2 separate regions of the Homo sapiens genome follow, and region 2 is linked to region 1. The links are contacts of gene promoters, found by promoter capture Hi-C in blood cells and fetal thymus (Javierre and others, 2016). All regions are on one chromosome and are shown on one strand. The core of a region is centred on a gene start or on the middle of the fragment in contact, and the rest is flanking DNA. Distances in the headings are between cores, read along the strand shown.

Region 1 (5,470 bases), core at 39-2,538:
ACATACTTGCATATGGGAGGGAGTGTTTTGGTCAGGGTTTGCTTTTACAAAAATGGAAACATATTATACTATAATATATGCACTTCTCTGCAATTTGCTTTTCTCTCAAGAATAAACATTAGACGTCTTTCCTGAAGAAGAGACATAAAGCTAACTTACCCTTTTGAAAAAAACTACTTCGTGGTACTGCATAGTTTGTATGAGCACAATTTATTCAACCGCCTTTCAGACAGACCAGTTACAGAGCTGGTCCTAGGATCGCTGCAACAGTCCGAGGGCATAGCTTCCCTAACTTCATTTTCACCAATTTCAAATCAACTTTAGTTTACATTTCCTGGCAGAATGCTTCACATACATTTATTTTTAATCATTACAACACTCCAGTGATTCAGGTATTATCGTCCCCATTTTGCATGAGAAAACAGGGTCTCTGAGTTATTAAACAAGTTGCCTAGGGTCATATAGCCACAAAGTAGTTGAATTCAAAACTCCTGTTCTAAATCTTTACTCTGCTTTATAAGCCCATTTATCACCCCTAAATGGGCTGTCTCTGGAAACACCTCGGCTAAGCCAATAAGCCTGGATTTATCTTTGCTCCATGGGCCATCTCCATGGCCCCAGACCTCCCTAGGCACCTGGCTCAGAGATTGAAGACGGTCCCACCCTCCCATGGGCAGTTCGGAATAAAAACTTCCTGAAAACTCTACCTTTCAGCAGAGGCTAGTCGAAAGGGGCCCTTTTATCTCAGAGGTGTCGGCGACGCTCACACGATTTATGAGAATCTGAACTTACAGAAACCAATCCACCAGGACACCCTGAAAAGGGAAGCAGAGGAGACATGGCGGGAGTACAATCACCGTTACTGCAACACAACCAGGAAGCGTCTGGACGCGACGTGACTCATCCATCTCTAGCAGCTCCCACACCAGCAGGGCAAAGGGGCACTTACCTGCCAACAAACCATTCGACTCTTTCAGTCTTCAGACCCCTCAAACTCCTCACAGTTCACTACCACGTGTTGCAAAATTCTCTGCCCCAAAATCACTGCCTCCAGTGCAGAGCCAATCAGGGAGTACTGCGTCATCACTGGGCGCCAGAAAAAAAGCAAAGCCGACATTCAAGCGAGCCTTGATGACGGCAAGAGCGAGGGACCTCTGCCGTTGCTATGGTAACTGAGCCAACGCGAGCGGCCTGCGCAGAGCCTCGTGGGAGTGGTGGTTCGACGGTGTCCTATGCCTGCTTTCCTTGCGGGCGGAGGAACTACAATTCCCAGCGTGACCCGGAGGCAGCCCGGGCAGAAGGGCGGTTGCTGCAGCTTTGGCCGAGGTTCGGGCTCGAACTTGGAAAATGCTCCTGGCGCCTCAGGGAAGGTCCTTCTCAAAGAAAAGGATGGGGCTGAATCGCTGGAAACGGTTCACAAGGAAGCCGAGTCCCAAGGTGATCCCAATCGAGAGCTTTGGAGGGCGGGGACTTTCCCAAGGCGCGGCGCAGTCAGGAAGCCAGTCGCGGCCCGTCTGTGCTTCCTGCCTCTTCATCCTGAGCTGACACGCCCCTGCCTTGACCGCCCCAAAGCCAGCATTACCCTGAGTGAAATGCTCTAGGAGCTCTGGGGTCTGGGCACATTACGGCTTTGGTGGGCAGCATCGTGGAAGAACTGTTTGTAACGCTTTTCTAAAACCGGAGGTGTCTGCTAATGCCCATCGGGGTGAAAGGAGTTTGCAAACTCCGTTCCCCCTACCTTAAATTTTAGGAAACTTCTCGCACATTTCTTTCTTTTTCTCTCTCTTTTTTTTTTTTTGCAAATCTTGGGGTAATTGATCTTTATTAACGGGAGAGAGCTTCACATTAAATACCCTGCCTATATTCCTGCCCCTTCACTTTTACGTAAAGTATCTAAATAAACTCAGGAGTGCAAATGGATATTGAATACATTAATACTTGATTCACATAGTAATTTCTAAATTCAACCAACTTTCAAAAAATAGATTCTCTCCGTATCTATCACCCATTTGGATGCATTAGCACCTGAAGATAAGAAAAAAATAATAACCCCATTTTAAACTTGAAACATATGTGACATGTGCAAAGTCACAGTTGCACCGTGTGCTTTCCACAGACTACCTTTTTAACAGTCCCCAAAAAGATGCTTAAAATCTAAATGAGAGTACTAAAATGGAGAAGCTTCTCAGCTTTCAGCTACAGAGCAGTTTCACCAGCTGTTTTCACCCTTAAGTTATACTTTCCTAAATAATATTCTGTAGATGTATGTGGCCTTTTTGAGGGCCCCAGGCGATTGTTCTTGCGATTTATTCTAAATTTACCAGCTAAATGCATTGGACATATTCCACATGACAAATATGTTGCCCTAGATACTAGAGGGCACAGACTGAAGCATCAGGGAGACTTGGAAACTGAGGCTGCTGCTATTTCAATACATCAGTTGCATAATGTATTGGATCCAAGATAGGATATAGATATGGACTTGATGATGAAAGGTAAAAATTTAGAATAATTTCTTAGGACTCCAAAAGGAAGGATTTTTGCTGCTAGTGCTCATTATTACTGCCTAGAGAAAAAAAGGTAAAAACATAGGGCTTCTTCAAGTTCAGTTGTATTTTAATTAGATCAGCTCTTTCTTTGTTGCAGTGACAAAATTATTAAGCAGTACAGCTGCGTTAGTTATCAGTAAGATGCTTTGAAGGTAAAGTGTTAGGTAAGTGAAAGAGTATTATATTTTTCCCACCTCCATGTGTCAGTATGCTAGTTTAGATATCCCCTTATTTTATTATTATTATTATTATTATTATTTTAAAGAGTATATTTGAGTAAGAAGCAATTCATGAACTGGGAACGCCAAACCAAAAGAGATTTAGTGCTCCAATGACAAATCATCAGGATATCCCCTTATTTTAAAAACACACCTGAATTTTTAGTGAAGAAGATAACTCTATTTGTTAAGTGACTATTAGAGGGAATTCTGCAAGCTTCTGGGAGTTTCAGAGGTTGAAGAAAGGAAATGTCCTGATAGTTTTACTTCTAATTTCAGATTAATACCTGACTGATCTGGGTGGAAATTTATATTTTCTGCTTTGTAAAACAGTAAAAGTCAGATTGATTAACCCTCGCCCCATTCCCCAGTTTTTGTTGTTGTTGTTGTTTGTTTGTTTGTTTGTTTTTGAGACAGAGTCTCGCTCTGTCGCCCAGGCTGGAGCGCAGTGGTGCAATCTCGGCTCACTGCAAGCTCCGCCTCTCGGGTTCACGCCATTCTCCTGCCTCAGCCTCCTGAGTAGCTGGGACTACAGGCACCCGCCACCACGCCTGGTTAATTTTTTGTATTTTTTTTTTAGTAGAGACGGGGTTTCACCGTATTAGCCAGGATGGTCTTGATCTCTTGACCTTGTGATCTGCCCGCCTTGGCCTCCCAAAGTGCTGGGATTACAGGCATGAGCCACTGCTCCCGGCCAAAACACACCTGCATTTTTGGCAAAGAAGATAACTCTATTTGTTAAGTGACTATTAGAGGGAATTCTCCAAGCTTCTAGGAGTTACAGAGAGTGAAGAAAGGAAATGCCCTGATGGTTTTACTTCTAATTTCAGATTAATACCTGACTGATCTGGGTGGAAATTTATATTTTCTGCTTTGTAAAACAGTAGAAGTCAGATTTTTTAACCTTCAGTTTTTATTGGGCCAAACAAGATCCCTGATCTGGGTAAGATGAGAAAGCCTCTTGCTACAGGCTACTTATGAAAGGAGTAAGGAGAGGAACACACCCTTCTTTAAGCTAAAGATTACTTGGATAATCTGGCTAATTAATCAGTGCTTTTTTTTTTTAATGAGTAGCTTTATATTTAGCATTTCTATATCTTGACTCTTAACCCTAAGGAGGTTTAAAAAAATAGCAGTGCCAGGGTCCTATCCCAGACCAATTAAATCACAATATCAAGGTGGACCTAGACAAGAAATAAAAACAATCAGTGTCCCAGGAAGGCTTCATGTTTTCTCCTCATACTGCTATTCTGTGTCTTTTATTGCTAATCATGCTGAACTTTCTAATGAAATGCTTTGGGGAAATAATAAAGGACACTGTTCCATATGCTTTAGTCAGAAGGATAGATTTAAATGGCAAAGTTGATAAAGATATTGCTGCGTATTGATATCATATATATGTTATCTACAGCCTACTTTTGGTCCTGACAGTGTGGAACACTGGATAAAGGTAAGGATATTTCAAATTTAGAATAAAAAGAGTATTAAGAGTCAAGCATAATCAGATGGAAAAGAAATATGAATAGATCTCCACTTTGCACATACTCTGCTATTTTTATTCCCGTGTGACTATGTAAGTTGCCTTAATTTTATACTTTTTAGTATTTTTTTTCATAATTCTGTTGCCTCTCATGATACCATTTAAGTAGGAATGACAAGAAAACAGGTGTGTAGACTTCGTTTCAAATGCCATGAGTATCACATGAAGAGGATTAAAGGAGTTGTGAAAAGAAGCCTTGGGAGAGGATATGGTGGCCTTCCTCAGATGTTGGAAAGACTGCACTGTAGTTACAATGACCTAGGGACTAATGGGTGAAAACTACGTGTGCATCACAAATAAGAATTTTCTAATGACTAGTCCATCCAAAAGTGGACTGGGTGTTCTTATAGAGATGTGTTTTCTACCACTGAAGCTATTTTAATGGACTCTAACTGGTCACTTAATGTTAGGCTAATGAACAATATGTTTGAGGATTCAGTGAAGGGGAGATTGTGTTAGATAACCTCTGACATCTCTTCCAGGCCTGAGATATGTATTTTTGAGTCTGAGTACCATTTAATTTGAAAGTGCCATTAAATCATTTCAGGTGTGTGCTTCTGCGTGTCAGTTTAGCAACTTGCCATATTCAATTCATCGTGTACCACATGTTTCAAAATCATGCAGCATTTTCCCGGGAAAAGACCATTCTGACAGTATTTTGAAGAGTGATTACTCATCTAAATTGACATGCATCATGAGCACCAGATCCCAGATAGATATAATAGATCCTAGGCCAGATGTAATAATTTTTAAGCATTTATTTATTCAGCTGGTATTTGAGTGCCTACTAAGTACTAGCCCACTGTGTTGGGTGTTGGAGCTAAAACAGAGCAGGTACAGTCCCTGCCCTCCCAGGGTTTACAGTCCAGTGGAGAATAAACAACTTACTAAAGCTCATGAGAGAATTAAAGATGTAATGGAAGTATGTGGTGAGAGGCACTAATTTAAATGGAGTCAGGGGAAGCTTCCTGGCTACTGCAGAAAGCCTAACTTAGATGACGACTAAAGTGGATCTACCATCATGAATGCTAGTCTCTAGGAAGGCCACTCCTCTATCTAGTAAGACTAGCTTGCATGTGAGTGTTGAGAGTCCCAGTGCCAAGTCCCTGCAGGGCTTAGTCACACAGTTAGTTACCATCTCTTCAGAGGCAAAGATTTAACTA
Region 2 (5,210 bases), core at 87-2,586, 1.0 Mb after region 1:
TGGTTTGAATCCTGGCTTTGGTACTAGCTGTGTGACCTTCTGTGAGTTTCCTGATCTCTCCGTACCTCTATTTTGTAATAGTAATATGTGCCTCATAGGGTTGTGCTAGTTTTAATGCATGTAAAGCGTTCGGTAGTCTGGAGTATGGTAAGCATTTAATTGGAGTTAGATGTTATTAGCTACGGTCATTTTGGTCATCATCCTCATCATTTTGTCATGAAGCTATTCCTTTACTCCTGTTGAGGTTCAAGTTTTAACATGATTGATTAATGTCTGTAAATTCTGTTTGTTCTGGACCTAACAGCATATAAGTACATCGGCATTACTGTTTTACTCAGTAACTTGACTTTTTTTTTTTTTTAACCCTGTCTTTGCAAAATGTCTACTTCTGGTATTTTTCATGGGTTAGTTTACTTCTTTTATTTAAGAATTCTTAAACATATTTTCTTGAACTTAAGGACTCCAGCTTCCATTGATGTTCTGTCCAATTTATGAATTCAGAGTGAGGAGTAATACTTTCTGTGCCAGGCATTGTTCTAAGTGCTTTTATATGCATGAAGTCATGTAATTATATCACAAAAGCTCTGTGAGGTGGGCATGCTTATTACTGTTTTCATATTTCAGATGAGGAAACTGAGGCATAGAAAGGCCAAGAAACTGCCAGGCCACATAGTGAATAAATGGTAGAGCTGCGATTTGAATGCAGGCAGTATGGTTTCATAGTCTTTCTTCTTTACTATTCACCAGTCCCCAGAACAGTTTTTCAACTGTATCTCAAGAACTATGGTGCTTTGTGAACCTTGAAACTTCTGCAGCCTGTGCACCTGTTTGTAGGTGAGCTGGCTTTGAAGTTGGTGGGTCAGCATCCCTCTTACTCAAAACTAACTGCTACTATATTTTTAGCAAATAGCACTAACTTGCTTAGCTTTAAAGCAAACTACTTCTATTGATCACCAAACATAAACTATTGACCTGGGTCATTACTTTTATATTTTCTACTTTTTTTTAAAGTTCCTTTTGAGTGTAAGAAATTTGGAAGAAGGTAAGCTTTGAATGAAAGAGCAGATCATCTCGTAGGCAGCATATTTTCATAAAGAAATAGTAAACGTTAGTAAAATCCAAATGTGACTTGATATAGAAAGAAGGGGTTGAAGAAGTAAAGGTGCCTTGTCAGAAGATGGTTGAAGTAGAATTGGAAGTGTTGCTCAATTGAGCATTTTTAATAGATATTCAGCAGGCATTAACTGATTAATGGGCTTATTCTGCTGGGCACTCTGCAGGGCCCCATATCTTCCCTGTTTTCAGAAACATTTCTAAATTGAGGAGGTTTGCCCAGGATACGGAAATAAGTGAAAAACAAGTCGTGATAATCTGGTGGTGTAGCGAAGAGGGGCCTTTCAGTGATCCCCCAACCCTCTGCAATTAGGCTTTGACCAGTATTTAATCATGTGGGGTTTTTTTATTGTGTATGTGAGATATGTGTGTTAGGATATTTATGTTAACTTTCCTATGTCAATCTAATTCAGCTGCAGATGGGACCTGTCCTGGTACAGAGGGGGAACAAAACAACTTGTATTTGGAGCAGTGGAGAAAAATTCAGTTTTTAAAGACATAAGGAAAGCTTAGTGAGCAAAAAAATTTCCTTACAGACTGATTTTTTTTTTTTAATTTTTAGGTTTTGTGGGTACGTAGCAGGTATATATATTTATGGGGTACGTATTTTGTTATAAGCATATAGTGCATAATAACCACAGGGTAAATGGGGTATCCATCACTTCAAGCATTTAGGGACTGATAATTCTAATTTTTAAATTTTGATTGTGAGCTAGCTTTCCTTGTTGTCATATAATTACAAGTCAGTAACATGTCCAATATATTTTTCTCATCTTTCCACGTTTCAGGAGACCAGTTTTGATTTTAAATGTTCTCAATCCAGACTAAAGACAACCAAGTATTCTTCTCAGAAAGTGATAGGAACTCCTCATGCCAAAAGTTTTGTGCAAAGATTCCGAGAGGCTGAGTCCTTCACACAACTTTCTGAAGAAATCCAGATGGCAGTTGTATGGTGCAGGAGCAAAAAACTCAAGGCTCAGGCCATTTTTCTGGGTAACAAACTTCTTAAAAGCAACCGGCTTAAACATCTGGAAGCTCAAGGTACTAGGTAGGTATATTGCAAAAATTATGTTACTTTACTTTTTCTGTTGTTGTTATGAGTAAAAGTATTCAGGTCACTTTTCTTTAAAATGTGATGTCCAGCAGCCGCAGCGGGGCTAAATTGGGATGTACTCAAACTGCAATTGCATTTGCTGCTTTTATTGTAAGAGCAAAGCTGTATCATTGGAGGAAGAAGATAAACAAGTTAATTGGACTTCAGTCCCCGTTATGCTCTTCATCATTTCCATCAGCTCATTCAGGAACCATTAAGAGTGTCTAGTGTGCTGAGCCTGAGGATACAACTGCATAAAGACGTGACTTGGTCTTCAGGGAGCTCAGGGTCTTCTGGGAAAGGCAGCCCTTCTGCAGACAGCTTCAGTGCAGTGCAGTGGGATAAGGGCATGAGAGCAGAAGCAGAAGGTGCCTGCCTTCCATGAGGCCCACACAAGACTGCTGGGGTGTTGTACTGTTGCTACTTGCTACTGTTTGTAGCAGCTGGACTCTATCTATATTTCTTTTCTGTGATTTTTATATTCACAACTGTTTAAGGGTGCTTATCTTTGCTTGTGAACCAGTATTGCATGAAGTATTACATGAATTTAGACATTAGACACTTCAGGGCTTAACGGTAATGATTTCAGACACAAATATGTATTAAGAGCCTATTCCACCTTCACAGAGGCAATTATTCTGACCTGTTTTTTATTGTATTCTTTAACAAATATCCTGTGCATGCCCCATAATTTCTTATCCATAGTTTAGAGCTATTCAGGGATTTAAAGTTCATTCCTGGGGATGAACCACGTATTGAAAATTTGTTAAATTTTCTTTTAAAATTTGCATAAAATATATTCCTGTTTTAGAAAAAAAAAAGTATACAGTGAGGGTTTTGTAACACATTTTGATTAAAAGCTATGGGGAAAGTGGTTGAATATTCCTGAGGGATAAAGTGCTTGAGGGGTTTTTACATTGAGATGGCTCCTCTAAAGGTCTGTAATAATCTAAAAGTGATGTATCCTATGGCTGGAGACGCAGCCTGAGATGGAGAGAAGCATTCTGTTTAAAATTGGGTTTAAAATCAAGGGTAGATGAGGCAGAGGTAACAACTAAAAGTTAATGAGAAGGGTAGCAAACTGGTGTTTATTGGTTAAACCATTACTCAGTACTCCCCCAGATATAGTGCTCCTTCATAGATTGCCCTGTTTTGCTGTTTCATTAATATATTTGTAGTAAACTTTATAATTTATTTAATGTCCATAATAACATTGTGAGGTAGACAGTATTATTCCCATTTCATAGATGGGTAAATGGAGGATTTTGCTCAAGGGGTTAGATGTGGAACTCAGTTCAGGCCCTCTGTTTTCCTTTCAACTCTGAAGTACACCCACCTTCTCCCCACTTAAAAGCCACTGCTTATAGTGAGATAAGAAAATGGTATGGAAGCAAAGATCATGATTTACTTTATTATAATGGGCTTCCTCAAAGTTTTATATCCATGCCCGTCTTTTAAAATCTATCACAAACAGTGAAACAATTCAGCAAGGCACTGATGAACCTTGTGGCAGTGTACCGTGTGTGGAAGCAAAACACCTAAAATGATCAGCTGTTTGATTTCTGAATTTCCAAACTTGAAGATGACATATGAATCATAATTAGGGTAGCTTAAGGCTGTCTGTGTATCTGGGCCAGAAGCCCTGTCTTCATATTGTTTTATAAACCCCTCTTAGCCTTTATTCCTTTTTCCTTGTTCATTTCCTGCCACAGCATGAAGCTGATTATCCAGATTCGGATTAATACGTACTGGCAGATTTTTTCATTTGTGATGTTTCCTCATGTCCACTCATTACATTATGAACAGATTAGCAGTTATGAGGGAAAAGCTCTGACACTAAAGTATAGGGTATCTCGCCATTCAGCTAATTGCTAGGCGGCTGTACTTTTGAGAGTTTGAAAGCAAAATGGGGACACATTCGTCTACACTTCAATCAGAGGGCATTTGTGCTCTCAAAAAACAGACTTGGGGTGAAATTTTTCGATGTGGTTCTGGGATTGTACACAGGCATAGGACTTGTAGATAAGTTGTGTATTTTTCTTTTCAGTTGGTAAATTAAAAGTGCTTGAGAATGTTTTTCTCATCTTAAGCCCAGATTTTTCCTCTCTCTGTCTTTTAAAGTTTGCCAAAGAAACTAGAGTGCATAAAAACGTCTATTTGCAACCACCTTCTTCGTGGCTCAGGTATCAAAACTTCAAAGCATCATCTGAGACAGAGAAGATCACAGAATAAATTTTTACGGAGACAAAGGAAACCACAGAGAAAGTTGCAGTCGACTCTTTTAAGGGAAATTCAGCAGTTCTCTCAAGGGACTCGGAAGAGTGCTACAGATACCAGTGCTAAGTGGAGACTCTCACACTGTACTGTGCATAGAACTGATCTCTACCCTAACAGTAAGCAGCTCTTGAATAGTGGAGTTTCAATGCCTGTCATACAAACTAAGGAGAAAATGATTCATGAAAATCTTAGAGGCATCCATGAAAATGAAACTGATTCGTGGACGGTGATGCAAATAAATAAAAACAGTACATCAGGAACCATTAAGGAGACAGATGACATTGATGATATTTTTGCTTTAATGGGAGTTTAGATGTTCGTTCATATGTGAGACTTTTAAGTGATTAACAAGGCTAGTTCAGTGTTCTAAGTAGAACTGCTAAGATCTGGAAGTACCACCTGGACTCACAGAGGAGCTGCTTTAGTGCAGCATTGCACAGGAGTTCATTTCAGTTCAGTCTACATTTAAAGTAGCATTGTGTCATTTCATCAACAAGTATTTCTTTTTTGGCTTCAACTACATGTCAGGTGTTAATATGAAAAATCTGCCACAGCCTACCCTTGAGAAGCAGATGTAATTCCTTGAGTGAGGCTAGTAAGTCTCTGAAAAACTGAATAATTTTATGACTTACTAGGCAATTTAATAATCGTTTGCAAAAACCATTGTGTCTTGAGGTAAATGAGGAGCGGGGGTGGGAGATAGCAAGGAAACACCTGAAAGGTCAAT

The links. The method cuts DNA at HindIII sites, captures the fragments that hold promoters and counts their contacts. A CHiCAGO score of 5 or more calls a contact.
Region 2: a contact is called between a fragment that was not itself captured here and the fragment with the promoter of CCDC191 in region 1, in 1 of 17 cell types (neutrophils). The highest score is 5.9, in neutrophils.

What each region holds. Positions count from the first base shown.
Region 1 is chr3:114,052,344-114,057,813 of GRCh38, reverse strand. CCDC191 (coiled-coil domain containing 191) reads left to right here and starts at 1,288. Exons shown (of 17, transcript NM_020817.2): 1 at 1,288-1,437; 2 at 4,179-4,217. The coding sequence starts at 1,348. It overlaps QTRT2 (queuine tRNA-ribosyltransferase accessory subunit 2), which reads right to left and starts at 1,077. Exons shown (of 10, transcript NM_024638.4): 1 at 950-1,077; 2 at 708-815. RefSeq lists an enhancer at 1,137-1,546. The HindIII fragment of the contact is 7,070 bases long and covers 1-2,183 here.
Region 2 is chr3:113,005,122-113,010,331 of GRCh38, reverse strand. RMP64 (ribonuclease MRP subunit p64) reads left to right here. Exons shown (of 9, transcript NM_015412.4): 8 at 1,902-2,161; 9 at 4,328-5,210. The coding sequence ends at 4,796. Among named protein-coding and RNA genes, the nearest start is that of NEPRO-AS1, 12 kb to the left of the region's middle. The HindIII fragment of the contact is 574 bases long and covers 1,050-1,623 here.